Linked DNA regions of Homo sapiens: all the other regions are linked to region 4. Evidence: promoter capture Hi-C in 16 types of primary human blood cells and fetal thymus (Javierre and others, 2016). All regions are on one chromosome and are shown on one strand. Each heading gives the region's core, a stretch centred on a gene start or on the middle of the fragment in contact. The rest is flanking DNA. Distances are from core to core; before and after follow the strand shown. Region 1 has its middle 51 kb from the start of CYP24A1. Region 2 overlaps STX16 (syntaxin 16). Region 3 has its middle 130 kb from the start of DOK5. Region 4 holds the start of FAM210B (family with sequence similarity 210 member B).

Evidence for each region. The method cuts DNA at HindIII sites, captures the fragments that hold promoters and counts their contacts. A CHiCAGO score of 5 or more calls a contact.
Region 1: a fragment that was not itself captured here is called in contact with the fragment with the promoter of FAM210B in region 4 in 1 of 17 cell types (M0 macrophages); the score reaches 5.4 in M0 macrophages.
Region 2: a fragment that was not itself captured here is called in contact with the fragment with the promoter of FAM210B in region 4 in 1 of 17 cell types (total CD8 T cells); the score reaches 6.1 in total CD8 T cells.
Region 3: a fragment that was not itself captured here is called in contact with the fragment with the promoter of FAM210B in region 4 in 1 of 17 cell types (endothelial precursors); the score reaches 6.5 in endothelial precursors.

The regions. Positions count from the first base shown.
Region 1 is chr20:54,121,304-54,124,647 of GRCh38, reverse strand. No RefSeq gene overlaps it. Among named protein-coding and RNA genes, the nearest start is that of CYP24A1, 51 kb to the left of the region's middle. RefSeq lists an enhancer at 289-1,094. The HindIII fragment of the contact is 9,202 bases long and covers 1-3,344 here.
Region 2 is chr20:58,664,304-58,667,815 of GRCh38, reverse strand. STX16 (syntaxin 16) reads right to left here. Exons shown (of 9, transcript NM_001001433.3): 3 at 219-326. STX16-NPEPL1 (STX16-NPEPL1 readthrough (NMD candidate)) reads right to left here. Exons shown (of 23, transcript NR_037945.1): 3 at 219-326. Among named protein-coding and RNA genes, the nearest start is that of STX16, 15 kb to the right of the region's middle. The HindIII fragment of the contact is 2,188 bases long and covers 1,067-3,254 here.
Region 3 is chr20:54,340,469-54,343,776 of GRCh38, reverse strand. No RefSeq gene overlaps it. Among named protein-coding and RNA genes, the nearest start is that of DOK5, 130 kb to the left of the region's middle. The HindIII fragment of the contact is 2,012 bases long and covers 874-2,885 here.
Region 4 is chr20:56,357,646-56,361,087 of GRCh38, reverse strand. It overlaps FAM210B (family with sequence similarity 210 member B), which reads right to left and starts at 2,114. Exons shown (of 3, transcript NM_080821.3): 1 at 1,897-2,114. The coding sequence starts at 2,082. RefSeq lists a silencer at 1,838-2,437. The HindIII fragment of the contact is 7,749 bases long and covers 1-3,442 here.

The DNA of each region.
Region 1 (3,344 bases), core at 570-3,069, 2.2 Mb after region 4:
TAGCCAAGCGGGCACCTGTAATACTAGCTACTTGGGAGACTGAGGCAGGAGAATCGCTTCAACCCGGGAGACAGAGGCTGCAGTGAGCCGAGATCGTGCCACTGCACTCCAGCCTGGGTGACAGAGCAAGACTCCGTTTCAAAAAAAAAAAATGGTTGAGACCGGAAAACAAAATATTTCTAACATGTGAAAAGGAAATATCAATATCACATATAATAGATGTTTAATAAAGTATCTGCAAAGCAGAAAACTATGTCCATAATCAACTGCATACATATACATATGTGTATATGTATGTGTGTGTGTGTGTGTAAATATGATTTTGTGTGGGATGTGGTTGAAATCAAATCTATTAGAGTATGCAGTAGAACATTCAGATATAAGAACAACATGAGTTTGAAGAAAAGAAATTTGTGAAGAATAGTCAGGAAGTCTAAAACTTAACTGTATGTTGCATTAGGCTTCCGAAGAGCAACCCAAAGCAATTATTTTATCTTTCCTGCTCTTGGAATTTTTAAATGTTTCTTTCAATTACTTGTCTGAAGTGAGTGGCCCATTTTGCAAGGTAGCGTTCCCTTGAATTCATGCCCCGGGTATTTACTGAGTGCCTACACTGTTGAATGACAGTCACATTCCTCGTCAAGGCTTACGTCTAATCAACATCTTCAAAGCCCTGCTTGGTCTGCTCTGGCACCAGGAAGCAGAGACAAAATCAACAGTGTCTCCTTACCTGACTGGCTTTGGCAAGAGGCAACATGACTTTGCATTCCCCAGGGAGGAATGTTGCCCTCGCCCAAGAGCGAATACAGCCGGGTGAACCTGCTCACCTCTCAGCGCCCTCCCTCTGGTCTGAGTGATTCAGAGGGAGACCTGCCACGTTAGTGCTCCTGACTGGGTTTGGTGAGCCTGAGAAACAGGCAGCTTGCCCTTTGATGTGTCTAGACACAGCGATGATTCAGAGATCCCTCTCCAGAGTGCCCGTGAGGAGTGCTGGAAATGTCAGGAGGAAGAAGCCTGCCTTCATGAGGTCCCTGTTGAGCAAAGCAGGCCCCAGGCTGGACATCAATCCTCTCTAGTCACTCCCTCTCTTCCCCTGAAGGAACCAGATGATGAATCACCCACTGGAAAGGTCCACTTCTTTCCTTCCTAATAAACAAAATACAACTTTCAAACCCCATTGAAAAAGGAACCAGGCCTAGTTCCCTCTAACAATACCTGTTTACCTATTGATTTTGCCATGGCTCAGAAAATATGTATGGTGTCCTTAGGAGGACTAAAGTGGTTTTCATATGTAACTCACATCCCCAGGTTCCTTTAGGTGTTTTCTAGAGTAGAGGACCTTAGCCTGGGGAGTAAGGGAGGCAGAGAAGGCCTGAGCATCTCTGAAAGGCCGTCAAAATGTGCATGAACGTTCGTCAGGACAGGGTTTTTAGCTGGGGATTCAAAGGTTAAGAATCTGCTAGCTCTCCAGACTAACTGAGCTCAAAGTCTTGAATTTGTACACAGGGCCAGGCAATGTTCTATACATTCATTTAATCCTCCTAAGCAAGTTACGAATTGACACTGCTATTTCCACATCCCCGTCTTACCAACTCCACATTAAGCTACCAATAACAGTGGCATAACCAGGAATCCGAACCAGGCATGCTGGCTGTAGCATTCATGCACCTAACCACCGTACTGCTTAAATAAAACACAGATAAAGTGACTTACTTATCTACATTTTAGTTGTACCTAGTCTGAGTGAGAAGTTGGGAAGAAAAAGTGACTTCGACCAAGAAGAAATGCAGAATTACCTGGGCTGTTTGTTGATCAATCCACTAGGACATTTGGCAAATTTTCCCGTGCTTACTATCTTGTGTTTTGGAGATGTGTATGCATGTGTGTGTAGGTGCGTGTGTGTGTATATGTGTGTGTATAATTTGTGACCCAAATTTTAATAGGTGAAAAATCAGTTAGATTTCTATCCTCAATTATTTTATTATAATTTAGTTTCCTATTCTAAATAATTTGAAACATGGTAACTATTTTAGTAATTTTGGGGAAGACAATGTCTGTTCAAGGACTTTTTTGATTAGCATTTTAAAGTAAACATGTTTGTTCACTAAATAGGGAAACCCACAGTCTGGGGAACTGACTTTGTCTTAAATGATGGTCTTCACCAGAAACTGAAGTTCATGAGTTTATGAGTCATCTCTGGCTCATTCTTCAAGTTTGCATTAAAAGTCAGGAGAAAAGGCTTATAATCAGGCTGGGTGTTTTGCTGCTGTTTTTCTTGTTGTTTTGCATTAAAGATGCTCAAAATGAATTGAGAAATAAAATCAGCCGTGCATAAATAATGGGCTTAGCCTCCTGGTCAGTGTCATGTGCAGAGGCAGAAATGGTTCCAGTGGCTGACTTAGTTAGGGGAAGGAGTAGTATTTGGGCATTAAAGATTTACCAAATTGTATTTTTGCAATTCTATTTTTGGGGTTCTGCTGAGCAAAAAAAAAAAAAAAAAAAAAAAAAGCCCTGCAGCTCATGAACCTGGACTCTGAACATCCTCTCTTTAGTTTACTATAAAAAGAAAACTCTTTAATAAAAAACAGTGAACAGAACTGGGATGAAAGTTTAAGGTTTTCTTTAGTCAACAGCTTTCCTGTGGTTCCTGAATTTCTGGCTGAACAAGCACAAATTGGTGAATAATGGAGGCAACCAAAGTAAAATATAGGAAACCGAAGTAAAATATTAAAATATTGTCTTTACTGAAGGTCCTTCTTCAGGATAAAGAGTTAAGAAAATGATCACACTAAGCATTCCTTACTTAGGTAAACATTGACAGGAAGTGAGGTGAGAACTACCTTGTCAGAAAATGTGTGGGATGCTGGAAGATTCTTTAATGCAAGTCACAGACTGGCAGGTTCCCAGCCAAATGTGGACCTCACATGGGCTTTTTTGGCTTGCATGATGTGTTTTAAACTTTTGAATTTGTTGACAACTTTTAAAAATTGAGGGAGTGCATTCTCAAAGTTGATATTTTTCTCTTGCCTTCAAAAGTTAGACCTGTTGCCAGTCGGGCGCAGTGGCTCATGCCTGTAATCCCAGCACTTAGGGAGGCCCAGGTGGGTGGATCACCTAAGGTCCGGAGTTTGAGACCAGCCTGGCCAACATGGTGAAACCCCGTCTCTACTAAAAATACAAAAATTAGCTGGGCGTGGTGGTGCGCACCTGTATTCTCAGCTACTTGGGAGGCTGAGGCAGAAGAATTGTTTGAACCTGGTAGATGGAGAGTGCAGTGAGCCAAGATCACACCAGTGTACTCCAGCATGGGCATCAGAGTGAGACTCCATCCCAAAAAAAAAAAA
Region 2 (3,512 bases), core at 911-3,410, 2.3 Mb before region 4:
GGTTTCAATTTCTTCCTATAATTCAGGTAGTTACTACCAATGTTAAAACTACAGCTAAAATCATTAACACACACATAGACAACTTAACCTAAAGCTAAAGTATTTCTAGAAATATACATTCAAGTGTAGCCAAATTCGTTTATATGACAGATATCTTAAAATACATTGTCATAATTACTTAAAAAAACAAGATGCTATGAAACTAACATGGAACTTACTTCATCCACTCCATCCACCCACTTAGGAGGTGGCCGTTTTGTCACACCAATCGCTGCTTCTGGATCTAAGCTGATGCCTGACACCAGTGCCATACGGTCATCAGCAAGCTACAGGAAAGTAAAGGGACATGAAAAAAATTATTCTAATCCAATTTAGATACAAATACTCTTACTCTCTCTTAAATGTTACTCCCTGAAAAGATACAGAAAGGAGTGAATGTTTACTCTCTCTTAAATGTTGCTCCCTGAAAATATATAGAAAGGAGTGAATGCACTTGCCTGTATTATAAACTTGCTTTTGATAACTGCTAGGATTTGGATTGTTTTCCTATCTTTTCATGCACCAGCTCTTAATTTCCTTGGACATACTTCAGAACGTAAATTTGACTTGATCTGGCTATAGAAATGTAATGAAAAAGTCAACAAAAGATCCTTAAAATAAAGACCTCTTACTACTAGTACTGTGATAGAACGGCATGAACCTCAATGATTCTTGTGATCAGTTGCAAGTGAAAAAAAAAACTAGGCAGTAAATGAAACAACTACAAAATGCTCAATAGTAGCAAGGTTTACTTAAATACACTTAGCTTATTTTGGAAATAGGGCTGATCCAGTTATCTCAGTCACACAATCATTAACCATGTGTTAAGATGTGTGAAACAACTGCCTAAAACCGCTAGCAAATTATCTACCATTTGGCAAAAGCAATCCTTAAGATCTCAATGCAATCTTACACTGTCATTTCTTTTCTTCAGTTAAATGTCCACAGGGAACATTTCCCCTTATTTTGAAATGGTATCGATGGTTCCTGTTTATTTTAACTATATAACACACTGCGGTAGAAAGCTTTTAAGAATGGGAGGGAAATCGGCTGGGCGCGGTGGCTCACGCCTGTAATCCCAGAACTTTGGGAGGCCAAGGCGGGCAGATCATCTGAGGTCAGGAGTTCGAGAGTAGCCTGGCCAAAATGGTGAAAACCGTTCTCTACTAAAAATACAAAAATTAACTGGGCATGGTGGCTTATGCCTGTAATCCCAGCTACTCGGGAGGCTGAGGCAGGAGAATCCCTTGAACCCAAGAGGCGAAGGTCGCAGTGAGCCATGATCGTACCATTGCACTCCAGCCAGGGCAACAAGAGCGAAACTCTGTCTCAAAAAAAAAAAAAAAAAAAAAACACACACACACACAAAAAACAGAGGGAAATCATGGGTTTGGCACGGTTAAGCTGTTTTCTTGCCTGCAGGCAGTGAATGGGTTGAAAAGATTTTGAGGTGCCCTCCAGAGCTCAGAATTTTTAAATGCCAGTTTCAAAAGATCCAAATGATGATCAAAATATAATGGAAAATAATCTATAAAAGCCCTTTATAGATAATACTTTGGAAATTTTCTAAATCACACTGTAGAGTTGGGTGAAAAATTCATATTGCTTTTCTTCCCTCTTCCTTGCATTTAACTAAATTTATTTTTTCATTCATTAAATACTTATTTGCTTTTCTAATAATAAAGGAACAAGACAAAATTTTAAAATCCACAGATGAAGGGGGAAAAATATCATATAAAGAAAAACTTAGAATAAAAGACCACTTCAAGTAATAGGCCCTAAATCCTAAAGAGTTCACAGTAAAATTCTTAAAAGCAAATTGGTATCTTCACCATCAACCTCCCTGCATGCCCTGGAGTGGTTCTGCCACCATCTGCTTCAGGCTTTCTGTGTGCTCTGGGGCACGTGTCCACTCAGGGAACGCATCTTAGGCAATGACCACGCTGGAAGGACTAGGCCCCATTCACTAATCCCAGCACGTCCAGGAGCCGTGATTAAGCCCAACGGTGCTCAAGCGTGGCACGGATGCTGCAGGGCCAGTGTCATTTCTTAAACAAATGGTGTGTCATCCAAACCCGCACTGTCTGGGGCTCCCGGGCCGTGAAGTGGTAATTCTCCACCACCACTACCTTCTGTTTGGTTTCAAGAGTTCATCAATAGGAATTTTACATTCTTGACATTATTTTAATCCTCATAAAAACTAGGTGAGTTAGAAACTATTATTCTAACCTATAAATATGGAAATTGAAACTCAGAAAAGTTAAGTCGCTTGCCCAAGGTCACAGAGCCATTATGTGACAGACTGAAACCTGGGTCGGCTGACTCCAGAAACCCCTTCCACCCTCAAAGGTGCCAATCACTCCACAGGCCCATAAACTATAACTGCAATTTGCTAAGAAAATGAATCAAGACAAGCCATCAGATTAAAACAACAAAACACAGTAGTTTGATTCATTTCCCACCAACTACACCAGGCACTATAGGACAGGCCGCCAGTGAGTGACGTTAGTGTCAGTAAAGATCATCCTCTCTTACTGACCATCCGTGGACAGAGAGGCGCAGACCTCACCCTCTACAGAGCAGGCACAGAGAGGGCCTGTGCCAAGCACTCAGAGGCAGACTTGTTTATTCCTCAACACTCCTGCTCCAAAGTCACCAAGAGGTACACAACTCTGTGGAGGACACACTGACTAAAAAGCAGGGGGACAAACCACAGGCCCAGCTCGCAGCACCTGCCAGCCATACATCAGGTGCTGTCTACAGTATTGCTGGACTGGAACAGAACTTGAACTCCAGCTGTTTATACAAAGTAAAATCTAAAATTGCTAAAGGACCTCTTCATGGGTCCTAGAATTTCCACTACACCAGTTTATTATCGAATCCACTATATTTTATTATTACACATTTCAATCAGTAATTATTTATAGTGATTTTAGAGTTTTTAAGCTCATGATCTTATTTTGTACTGTTTTTACTGTTTACAAATACACATTAAACTAAAGAAGACAGAGAGATGGTATCTATCTAAATTTACCTGCATTGGGATTAGTATCATTTTATCCAAAACAACAAATTATAAACCACATATGAAAAGTCGGTTGAAGTGAATACAACTCTTTGAAGCAGTACTTGATTTTATGCATGTGTTCCCCTCAAATTAGATGTAAATCAAAAGTGGGGAGAACACACTCTTTGTTAAGGGTCCTAAGGAAGCTTGCTAATTAGAGATTCCTACATGAACAGCATGGATGCCAGCCTGCTCAGCTGGTACTAGCTTTCCCACACATTGTATCAGAGTTTTGCCAGTAAGATAGAACAGCTGATTCTTTGGGAATGAAAACTTTAAATAGCGAATAATTTGTCTCTTTTATGATACAGTCTATAGCTATAGTTCATTATAATAAAGAAACACCACCCTATTGAGAAGAAATGTGTCATTTCTTTTAGCAGTATGGATTTGTAATGTGTATCAC
Region 3 (3,308 bases), core at 630-3,129, 2.0 Mb after region 4:
CTGGTACAGAATCTGACTCACTATCCACTACATTGTCTACCTTGTGCCTGAACTTTTCTCAGTTTGGCAAAGGTCCGGTTATTCCCATAAGGACAAAGACATAACTATATCTCTCTTTAAAGGCTCTGAAAAGTCCTGCAATTAAGATAGTAGTTCGATGTTGGTTTCTCAATCTGCAAATGTGGATATTATCGTTTGGTATGAGTGTGCAAGAGGCTGAAGAAAATCTTAAAACACAAGCTTTGAGTAACCGGTTTGACTACGCTCCACAAGGTTTTTTCTTTCTGCTCAATTTCCAACTTCCACTTTGCATGCAACCATCACTGCACTTCTAAATGTTGATGGATGTACAGAACATTCTTTGCCAGAGACCCACTTGGGCACAGAAGTCTGGAGCAAACTAGAATATTTTATACACACACACAAAAATAAGACCTCATTCTTTCACAGGCAAAACTCCTCTGACGTCAATAGTAGGCTGGGAACAAAGGATGAAACAATAGATAGCAAATTTCAAGTAATTACCTAGCCAATGGCATAGAACGTGATTGACTGAGTCCTTGTGCTTGGCATGCAGATGATTAAATGAGTTTTAATTTGCACATCCAGTGGCAAGACTGCCAACGAATAAGAAATAGAAAAAAAGGAAGAGAGAGAAAGGAGAGCGAAGAAGGCAGGGAAGGAGGAAGGGAGTAGGATAGAAAGCGGGAGAGAGAGAGACAGAGAGAGAGAGAGAGAGAGAGAAGGAGCTCTCTATGCAAGTTCCCTGGAAATGTGGTTAACAGATTGCTAGCATACAAAACAAATAAAAATAAAAATAAAAATAAAAATAAAAATAAAAAATAAAGGTCAGCTAGATGGTTTTAAAAAGCTTTGTCAACAGATTCAAACCTGTTCAGGGACTCTGGGGTGGTAAAAGGGGGAAAATGATGCCCTCGCTATATCTGCAGAAAATGTGTGTTTGCATATTTACTGCTACAGGAATTTGAATTTCTTTTTATGCTATTTCCTAACATTTACAGATGGAGCAGAAGTGTGAGCAGTGGGGAGGCAATTTGTTTCTTCCTCAAAGGCTGCAACTCAATTCAGAGAAACAAATCCAGCTTTCAAGAGCAATTAGATTAAATTCACAATGGCTGCTCTGGGCAAGTTTGATTGTCTGCTGTGATCATTTCTTGTGCCATTTTGCAAGTAGATTGTGAAAAACAGCGATGTCATCACTTCTTCATAATGTTGTCTGAATAACCCTACCCCCACGATAATGTACTCATTGGTCAAATAAGTTAAAAAATTCTGCTTACTCTATTTGCTTCTGGAAAGTCACAATGTATGCTTGTATGTTAAAGGCTCTGAAAAGTCCTGCAGTCAAGACAGTAGTTTGACATTGGTCAATCAAGATTTGTCTAATCCCGTATGAACGCAAATGTTTTTCTGATAACCCATTTTGTTACATCTGACAGCATGGGTGTGCCCTAGAAATGTTTTAGGAAATGATGGATTATATGATTTGCTCCAGTTATCAATCACAACTTTCATATTCATTTGAAAAAATAGATCTAGACAGATTAATCAAACAAGTAATTATTAATCTGTCTCAAACGTGTATTTTCTTTCATGCATAGAAATGAGTAAGACTCATATAAATATGTTAGTTGTCAAATTATAATAGATTCCATTTATTGAGTACTCACTATGGATATATCAAGTATTTCGTTTGATCCTAATGATAACAGTAAGAAATAGACATTTTTAGCCATGTTTTATAGATGAAAAAACTAAAGTTCTGAGAATTTTAGTAATTTGCTTGCATTCAGCTAGGATATGGTAAAATCCACATTTGAACTCAGACCTCAGTTTAAATAATGTGTTTTTTCTGTATTGCTGCTTTTTCTTCTGCCTGGCATAGGCATTAAATGAGGAGGCAGGAATGAAAGGGAATGCTTACCACATTTTCTCTGACACCAGGTTTACCCACATCCTTTCTCATCTGATATATATTTAACATCTGGAATATCTGATTTTTACAATGAGGATAATGAGGTTTGTGGATTTCGAGAGCTGACATTTTATCCAGTATCAAAGTAGCTTTTGAGGAATATGATTAAAATCCAGACCCCTCCACTTTAACATTTTAATTAGGTAAAAATAAATAGTAACTTCATGACTATACACCAAATCAATGTAATATGCCATTGGTGTTAATAAAATCCAATGCCTGAGTCATAACTCTATGTAACTTAAATAATTCCACACTTTAGGAAATTTGTTTTATAATGTGCATTATAAAGAGATTAATTAACGCAAATTTTCCTTAAGTCTGTAATCACACAGACAAAAGGAAGATACTCTCTCAGTCTACATTTTTTTTCTGCTGATGAGGATGTTGGATAGATTTTTCAATTACCTGAGTTAAGAAGCAAGGCCTGGTCAACACAGTGACAACTACCTTGAACAAGGAGACCAAATTTATAGCAACCTAGAGAAGAAAACCACACAATAAGTATAAAGAAAGTTATCAGGGCAAAACATAATGAAACCTATTTTGAATTATAACTCTAGGCATCTATTAATCACTTATTGTCTTATATGTCACTCAAGAAAATGATAAATCCAGCCCTGTTCTTGGGGAGATTGCAATATATGAAGCGCTTCCTAGAGAACACTACCACTGGTCAGAAAATTTACAGTGTGGAATAAGCAAACCAAATATTATCTAAGAGGAATCTTGTGTAATCTTTGCTAGTTAGGATTTTCCTTTTTCTGGTAAAAGTACACTGAGTCAGCTCTGCAATGAGCGTACTTTCCCTGCTGGATAGAATATGGTAGAAATAACAGTGTCCTTCCTTTCCCTGGTTAAGGGATCTGGCCATGACCCAAGATAAGCTTATTGAACGCTGTTTCCTTTGAGTGTGGAATCTTGAAGGAAATGACACAGAAACAAAAAAGATCATAGGCTGATTAACTTCATCGCTGACATCCTAAAGTAACAGCCCCTCAGTTCTGGCTGTAACTCCCCCTCTCCCCGTGAGCTTTCTTTGCTCCTTGTGTTTTTCCAAACCTCAGTCTATGGCTTTCACTTGGATCCTTTTAGGTCCCTTATTTCCCTTGAATGAATTATTTTTCTGCTTAAGAGAGCAAGATACACTTTCTCTTGCTTGCCACCAAAGACCCATAATTTAAACAGTTTCAGATCTGGAACTTCAGAGAAGTATAATAATGAACAGGATAAAAACAAATACTAAAAGTAAACAAAGATAAGTCCATAGTCTGATTCCAACAAAATCATAGGCTAACCATAATTAGACATG
Region 4 (3,442 bases), core at 865-3,364:
CATGGAATCATGTTAAGACAAAAAGGCAGGTCTCTTCTGTGGCTTTCCCTACCCCTCTTACAGAGACCCCCTGCCAAGGCAGCGTGGGTGGGCCTCTTTGGCTCTTAATTAAACACCTGGCAAATTTGGAGAGCCCAGCTGGGCAGCACACTCCTACCTCCCGACGAGGGTGGGCGGCCAGAACAGACGACAGGGGAGGTTCTGGGCTCTGGCCAAGCCCAGACCCTCCCTGCACTGCTCCCAGGCCCTGCTGGGGACGCGTTTTCTCAGGCAGATGAGTTATCTTTTGTCCTAATCTCCTTTGAGGTTCTGATCCCACTTGGGTTTCTGCCGATTTTACCACGGTGCAGAAGAAACAAGGACAGCTCACGGGGCCCTGGGGCCTTGTGACTGTATATATTTACTGCAATTATAGTCATTTCTAACCTTAATTTAGGACACACCAGATGCCAGGTATGAACATATCTCATTTTACATTCATATTCTATGAAGTCTGAATTATTAACGTCCCATTTTACAGATGAGGGGCCTGAGATAGAGAGAAGGGAATTTGATCAAAGTCAACAACAAGTGAGTAGAGAGAGGAATCCAGGGAGTCTGAGGCCAACTCTTTGCCACTGTATACACACACACCGCTCCAGTGCCAGGGCCTGAGCTGGGGACAAGGTCAATGTGGCTGACAGGCAGGACAAGAGGCCATTCCAGATGAGTGCAGAGAAGACCCACAGCCATGGGGTGGAAGCAGGCCCAGTGGAGGCATCCGAGACCTCACAGGTCGTTAGAGAGGGCTTCCCGGAGGAAGGAACAGCTGGGCTGGGCCCTGAAGAATCATCAGGAGGCGGCACGGTGTGTGCAGAAGGTGCCACTCTGGAGAGGATCCCCAAGACCTGTGTGCCACCTGTCGGACTGGAGAAGGCAAGGAAGGAAGTTGATCTGGGCAGGAGGCATGATGAAAGCCTGGGTCCAATCCCCATCCGCTCCTTACTGAAAAGCTAGGAAACGGTCAGGAGATGTTCGCTGGGCCGGCGGCACTCCGCTGAGGCCTGCACCAGCTCATGGAGTTGTCTCCCAAACTCTTGCTGGGAAGGTGCTATTTTTGGCCCTCTAAAGGTCAGAAAACAAGCTCAAAAGCCTTCAGGACTCGGTCTGAGGTCACCGGGCGATGAATGGAGGGGCCCTGTCTGCACCCAGGCAAACAAAGAGGCTCCAGACTGCCAGGCCGGATGCGCTCCGGGCTGGACGCCGGCTCCGCGTGTCTGGGCTTGCCATTCCTGGACCGCCAGACTTCATTTACTACTATTTTTATTTAAAAAGACTCACTTGGAAGAAAGTGATAGATTTCTTGAAAGGAAAGCTGGTATGACTGCTCTGAAGGAAAACCAGTTTTCACTTAGCACCAATGGAAAGTGACGGAAATGAAACATAACAAACAGCACTGTGGGTTTCTTGCCCGCGGCTTCCCTGAGGACGCCTGCTCTTCCACTCAGAAGAAAAGGGAGGAGCAGCGAGCGTCGGGAGGTGTTCAAAACACAGCGAGACCCAGCCAGAAGGCCTGGACAACAACTCCGCAGGCAACGTGTGGAAGTTCAGACCAAGTCAGTCGGCTGCGCCCCAGCCTGGCTGAGGCTCTGCAGACCCGGGGCTCGGCCGAAGACTGCGCGACCTTGGGCAGAGCGCCACACCTTCCCGAGCCTCAGTTTCTCTGGCTGTCAACTAGGAGGATCGCTTCCTTGGCTTGCAGGGATTTGGGGTTTCGGGGACCCTGGAAGAGCTCGGTCCCGGGCAGCTACAAGTGCAAAGGCGTCCTTGGCGGAGGCGGCCGGACCCCGGCGCGGCCCTGCGGACGTCTGGGGACCTGGACACCGCCCGGGATCAGGGTCGGGGTGGGGTGCTTACCTGGTGGCCGCGGCAGTCCCCGCGCGCCGTGCGGAGCAGCCGGGCGTCTAGCCTGGGCGGGAGCAGGGCCAGGGCCAGGGGCGGCGGGGCGCAGGGGGCGGTGGCGCCCAGGAGCCAGGTGGCGCGAGGCCGGACCCGGGCGCCCACCCTGCCTGCCGGACCCAGCAACGCCAGCAACCCGGCCATGGTGCGCAGCTAGGCGCAGCACCCGCGCCGCTGACCCGGGAGGCGGGCGGAGGCCGGGGAGGGTGGGCGGAGCTGACCCGGCGAGGGCCCTCCCCGGCCCCGCCCGCCGGCTTCGCCGCCGCGCGCGCGCGCTGGGCGGGACTGAGGAGGCCTGTGCACATCCCCTTGGCTCACCCGCTAGCTCCGCTCCTCGGGAGCCGGAGTCCAGGGCTGGTGGGCGGGGCTGAAGGAGCGCGCCCCGCCTCCTCTCCGCCCACCAGCCCCGCCCCTTTGGGGGTGGGTGCAGGTCTTTTCAGGGTCTTGGGCTTTCTAACTGTGGTGTGTAGTTGGCGGGTTTCCTTATTCTGCGGGCACAAAGGTGGGCGTAGGGCCGTGGCTTATGAGCTTTTCTCCCTGCAGAAATGGGTGAAATCTGAAAAAAAATTATAGATATGTTTACGTGTTAGCTCCAAAGAAGAAAATAAATATGAGAATTGATATTAGTACATGTTTAATAAAAAGTCCTCTGACCCTCATAGATTGTTGGCGTGAATGTAAAGCGAAAGATGGTGTGGCAGTTTCTTGAAAAGTTAGACATACACTAACCATACAACCCAGCAACTCCACTCCTCGGTAGCTTCTCAAGAGAAACAAAGGCTCGACACTCAAAGACTAAAATGTGAAGACACCAATGTTTGTAGAGATCTTATAAATATTAGTCAACAATTAGGAATGCCCATAAACTGGGACGTACTGTGGCACAAGTCTTCAATGGGACGCAATGCAACAATTAAAGGGAACAGACTACTGATACATGCACAACATAAATGAATCTCAAAGCTCTTATGCCAATTGAAAAAATCTAGGCACAAAAGTCACACACTGGAGGATTCCAGCTACATGAAGTGCCCAGAATAGGCAAAATCACAGAGACCTAAAACAGATCCGTGGTGGCCTAGGGCTGGGAGTGGGAAATGAGATTGACTGCCAAGGAGTGGGAGGAACGTCTTGGGGTGAGGGAAGGATCCTAAACCCAGATTGTAGGGATGGTGACAGCTGTGTAACTAAAACTCGTGGGACTGTACACTTAACATGGATGAATTTTATGCTGTGTAAATTATACTTCAATAAAGATGTTCTGGCTGGGTGGAATGGCTCATGCCTATAATCCAAGCACGTTGGGAGGCTGAGGTGGGAGGATTACTTGAGCTCAGGAGTTCAAGACCAGCCTGAGCAACATAGCGAAACCCTGTCACTACAAAAATAAAAATAAATTAGCCTGGTGTGGTGGCATGCACCTGTAGTCCCAACTACTCGGGAGGCTGACGCAGAATTGCTTGAGCTCAGGAGGTCCAGGTTTCAGGGAGCCACGATGGTGCTA